Regions from separate parts of the Homo sapiens genome. Here region 1 is linked to region 2. Evidence: promoter capture Hi-C in human tissues and cell types (Jung and others, 2019). All regions are on one chromosome and are shown on one strand. The core of a region is centred on a gene start or on the middle of the fragment in contact, and the rest is flanking DNA. Distances in the headings are between cores, read along the strand shown.

Region 1 (2,756 bases), core at 120-2,619, 920 kb before region 2:
AATGAAAATGTTAATGTATGATAGAATGCTATGGTCACACACAGGGAAACTAGAAAAAAAGACCAAACAAAATGTAAATGTTAATTAAAGAAAAAAATAATTTAATGGAAGAGTTAAACAGATTAGGAACTGCTGAAATGGTATTAGTAAGCAAGATGTTGAAGATGAAGAAATCACTCAGTATATGTCAAAGGCAGCATAGAGAGATGGAATTGAAAATATGATTTTATTAGCCAGGATCCTCCAGAGAAACAGAAGCAATATGATCTCTCTCTCTCTCTCTCTCGATAGATAGATATAGTATATATATATATATAGATATATAGTATAGATATATAGATATATAGTATATATATAGATATATAGTATAGATATATAGATATATAGTATATATATAGATATATAGTATAGATATATAGATATATAGTATATATATAGATATATAGATATATAGTATATATAGATATATAGATATATAGTATATATATAGATATATAGTATATATAGATACAGATAGATTTATGCCTCTATCTATATCTAGCTATATAGATATAGATATATCTATAAATATGCCTCTGTGTGTGTATATGCAGATAGATAGATAGATATGCAGATAATTAAGCAAAGAAAGGAGGGAAAATAGTAAACAAAACAAAGTGATAGAAATAAGTCCAAACATGTGAGGGAGAGACAGAAAGATACAGAGAGAAGAGGGAAGGAAACAGATTTATTTTAAGGAATTGGCTTATGCTATTGTGGAAGCTGACAGTCTCAAATCTTCTGGGCAGGCCAGCAGGCTAGAGACCCAGGGAAGAGTCATGTTGCAGTCTTAAGTTGGAAGGTAGTCTAGAGGCAGAATTTCTTCCCTCTCTGAAGATCTTAATCTCTTCTCTTAAGGCCTTTAACTGATTAAGTGAGGCCCATGATATTGTGAAAGATAATCTGCTTTATTCAAAGTCTACTGATTTAAATACTAATCATATCTTTAAAAAATACTTCAAAATCTAAACTTGTTGTTGACCAATACAACTGGGCACTTTAGCATAGCCAAGTTGTCACATAAAATTAACCATCACAATGAGTGCATATTAAGAGATGCCAAAGATAGAGTGAGAAAGTCTCATGTTTATTTGGAAGGTGTTCCAGAAGGAGAGGTAGAGACTAGCAGTGAAGCAATATTTACAGAAATATTGCCTGAAAGTCTGTCCAAATGTAAGGGAAAAAAATAAAATTTTTGATTTAAGTGGCACACAAATTCAGAGCAAGAAAATGCAATTAATTCCACAATGAGTGGGTTATTATGAAACTGCAGAACATAAAAATAAAAAGAAAACATTTAAAGGTTTCAAAAGAAAAGACACATCATCTACTAAGGAAAGGTAAGCAGAATAAAAACTGTTTTTTACCATCAAGAGCTACCACAGGTAGTGGAAAAATACTTTCAAAGGACTCAGGAGAAATGATTGAACAAATGGACTTTTATACCCAGCTAAATGATTGATGAAGAATAAAGGCAAAATAAAGGCATATTTTTCAGACAATATCTGAGAGCTTTTCAGTTTGTGGATTTTACTGAAAGAAAAATTAACTGATACATTTAAGTATCTACAAAAGAGGATTCTGATGAAAAAAAATGATGATGCACAAAGTGATTTTCCCTAAAGAAATTTTAAACATTTTAATAAAACTCAGTAAGCTTTGATTGCAAAAAGTATCTGGTTTTGAGGACTTCCAAAGCAAGTAGTATCTAAAATACTGGACAGCTACCCTTAAAGAGGGGAGTATGTTAAAAAATAAATTGTTCTAATGTTTTTGAAAGGACAGAGATATTATTGAATGTTCTACTTTGTTATGTCAAGAATGGATGTTAAAAATAAAAGGACAACTGCTAAAGAAAATGAAAATAAAATACATAATTTCTAAGCTAGTAGAAGAATAAAAGGGAAATTACAAAACAAGCAGAAAGTTAAGCAAGAAAGGATGTAAAATCGTAAAAAAAAGATGACAGATGTCCAAATACATGCTAATAATCACAAAAATGTAACCGAATTAATAAAATATAGATTTTAAGATTAAATTTATTTTTGTTCTAGCTTTGTTTCCTGACAGCATCTAAGCATTAAAACACAGAAAGGCTGAAAGTAAAGTGATGATGAAACATACACTGAAAAATACTAAAGAAAAGGAAACTAGTGTTGCTATGTTAATTTCAAATAAAGTCAACTTTAAGGCAGATGATAATCACCTTATGACTAGCCCCTTGAGTCATCTTAAGTAACTAAATTTATATTCACTGGAAGAGAACTACTAACAGAACTTATCAAGCCACCAACTTCTGGAGACTATGACAGATTCTCAGGAAGCTGTCTGGACAGTATCTTAGGGAATGTCATTCTGTTACTAAATATTTTAATATTAGTACTTGGGTAGATAGTTATTCTAGGACAGCGTGATGCATTTGGATACTTTGTCAGCCCAGGGCTTACCCTCTGGTTTGGAAAACCAAACTGATTTAAAAAAAGGCGTAACTAAAAAATAAAAAGGAAAAGGCCACATAGAGGATTTTGACTAAATGACAGATATTCTATGTGTCTGAGACATTTGGATTAGTGCCTAGTTGACCCAGTAAGCTATTATGCAAATCCTACAAGTTCCATTCACCTTAAGTAAGTGCATGCTTTCTGAGGGACTCCTGGTTGCAATTCAGTTTATGACCACTAGATGGCATGTTGCCTTTTTGCAAAGAGCAAACGTCG
Region 2 (2,877 bases), core at 206-2,705:
CTGCCACGCAGAAAAGGGCGGTGGTGGGGGAGGGGGCCGGGTCCCTTTGTTACTTAGCTGTGGAAAGTTGGGGCTTTCCTTTTGATTTAGTTCTAGAAAGTCAGCATGAATCAGCCGTAAGTTCCTTGCCTCCAGACCCTATTGTCCTGCCTCACAGCTATGTAGTACAGAGTCTGTCACAGGCTACCCAGAAATGTACACAGAGACTGTTAACAGGCTACAGAACAGATTGGGAAAGGGCTCTGGGGTTGTGACCCTCACCAAGCACAGGCATCTTGCATCTCTGACATGTTAATGGTGGATGCCAGCACTCTCACTACTGCCTCGGAAGCTTACCTTGCTGTTAGGGATGGGTTCTCGATCTCTACACTTGCTATACTCCTACAGGTGACCTGGGAGTGTAGCTTTCTGTGCCTTTTTTGACTCATGGCTTCCAGCGGGTACACATGATTAGTTAAACAAGTGTTCAGCATTTCAGCGGCAGCCATTAGACTCTTAACTCAGGTGGGGAATTCTCCAAATACGGAAGGGGATTCAAATGGGGGGCATAATAAATGTATATAAATGTCCATTAAAGGCAAGTTGAGTTGGAAGTGATGACAATATATTTGAGTAGAAACATCTAGCAGGTAGTTGGAAATGTGGCACTCGTGTTCCCCAGAGAGCTAGTTACAGATTTGGGAAGTTGAGTTGTGATTGCTTTTAAAATCAGGAGTCTAGAGAGAATCTAACTCAAAATTTTCATCCACATATGCAGAATCTCAATCTGAGAGTTGTTCATTCCTATAGATGTGCTGGCCACACCAACCCCCAACATCTATTATGAAAATTAGGAAATTCACACTCTATTATGGAAAATAGGAAAAATATATAGATAATACATGCAAAACAAGTGGGAGGAGAGAACTACGGATCGTGGAGAGCCTATTGCATATTATTATTTTACAAATATTTAAGTGCCAACTATGTGTCAGGCACTATGCTAAGGTGATTTAATGTTGAGCAAAACCCGACATGTCCCTGCATTTGAGGAACTGAAAGGTCTGAGGGAGGGCCTAAGGAGCTTGGGCCTTAGCTGGTTACAAAGCCATATATTATGCCATATATATTAATGAGCAGCAACGCCTCCCGCAGTATTTACAGCCCACGCGTGGCAGTCCTGTCCACCCTGTCCCCGTTCGGTCCAGCCCGAGGCGGTGGCCTAGATGCTTGATGGGCACTGTCAGCCTGATCTTTGGTGGTCTTCCCGCTGTCTGTTCTCAGCTGCTGATTCCAGGTCCCAGGAGTCGACTTTGGCTTGAGGAAGGCAGGCGCCTTAGGTGGGGCAGTTGACACTCGCGCAGCGCCTTGCTCACCTGAGTGTGTGGCGGCGCGCGGGTTTGGGCGGGGAGGGGGCCGGGCCTCGGGAAGGAGGCGCGCCGCGCAGTTTGACCCCGGCGGCGTTCCGTACCGTCGCGGATTTCGGCGGCGGAAACATGGCGGTCGCGGCCGGGCCGGTAACGGAGAAAGTTTACGCCGACACTGGCCTGTATTAGCGCGTATGGCCTCGGGCCCTCGTTCCCCAAGGCGTGCCGCCTCCCTGTTCTCAGTCGCAGGCTGAAGCCTTGTCTGCTCTCCTCCTTTTTGGTTTGGTTTTGGAACTGACTCCGAGGGTTGGGAGAGCGCGTTGGTGGCGACGGCCGAGTCAGGTAGGGAGAAATGGGTGGACGGCAGGGCGGCGAGATCTAGGCATAGACACTGCCAGGGCTCCGCGTGGTCCGGACCCCAAGCTCCGCCCAGTCGGCCTCCCAGGGCCGGGGTAGGATACCTGCCTCTGGAGGAGTTGACAGTGGTGGTTGGAGATTGGAGGGTGTGGGAGCGCCTCTCCGTATTTCGCAAGGGTTCCCCCTCAACTGGGCGCCACGTTGTGGTCGCGTTCTCCGAGGCAGAGGATGGTGGAGAACAGCCAAGCTCCTTGTCGGACCTCCCACATCTCGCTAGAAGGAGGCCGAAAGGGAGAGAAATTGCTGTTGCTGCTCTAGTGCTGAGGAGTTTGATATTCTAGATGACATTTTCCTCGTATGAGATGGCTCAAAGAGTTATCAGTAATTCAGAACTGAAGCACTGAAATTCCCTGTTTTTTCAGTGTAGTTCTTTCAGCCTTGACACTTCTAGATGGGACAGAGTTTCTGAGTGAAAGATAATGCAAGTGATACGGTATGCCTCAAGCCATTCCCTAGAGGTAGGACATGGAGAGAGAATTGGTTTGGAAGAATTTGGGTGAATTAAGTAAAGACTGGTGGAAAGCTGAAATAGAAACCAAACATTCATGGACTCTCCCTTAGTTCTACTAGTTATTAGTTGTGGGATATAGCTAAGTTCTGTATTCTCTTTAGGCATTAGTAAGTGTCCAATGGTGACTATTGTTGTTAAATGTAGTTATTTCTTTATTAGTCTTTATTTTTCAACAAGTATTTATTGAATACCTTCTTGATGCCGGATTTTTGCTAGTCACTGGGTGTACAGTATTGAAGACAAACCCTCAGAGACCTTTTGATCTAGTGGGAAATGCAGACATGAAATAAGTGATGGTATGTAACAGAGAAAGTATGGGGGTCATGTAATGGGGAGGGGGCAGGGATAATCTCTTAAGAAAATGATTTATCTGAGACCTGAAGAGTTGGAATAAGCCAGGTGTGAGCACTGGGGTGGGGCCAGGAGGAGGAAAAGGAGTGTACCTGGCAAGGGAATAGCATTTGTGCAGTTTGTAATTGAAAGGTCAGTAAGGTTGGAAAATAAAGTGTGAGAGGAAAACTGGTAACAGATAAGGCAGGAGAGTTATTCAGGCCCAACACGGAGTGCCTTATAAGGCACTGTAAGGAGTTTTGACTTTATTGC

The links. Contacts are between HindIII fragments. The study calls those that stand out against the background at their distance.
Region 1: a fragment that was not itself captured here is called in contact with the fragment with the promoter of TMEM168 in region 2 in 1 of the 25 tissues and cell types used here (dorsolateral prefrontal cortex).

Annotation. Positions count from the first base shown.
Region 1 is chr7:113,710,447-113,713,202 of GRCh38, reverse strand. No RefSeq gene overlaps it. Among named protein-coding and RNA genes, the nearest start is that of PPP1R3A, 210 kb to the left of the region's middle. The HindIII fragment of the contact is 3,767 bases long and covers 1-2,756 here.
Region 2 is chr7:112,788,971-112,791,847 of GRCh38, reverse strand. TMEM168 (transmembrane protein 168) reads left to right here and starts at 1,455. Exons shown (of 5, transcript NM_022484.6): 1 at 1,455-1,688. RefSeq lists an enhancer at 1,067-1,196. The HindIII fragment of the contact is 15,678 bases long and covers 1-2,877 here.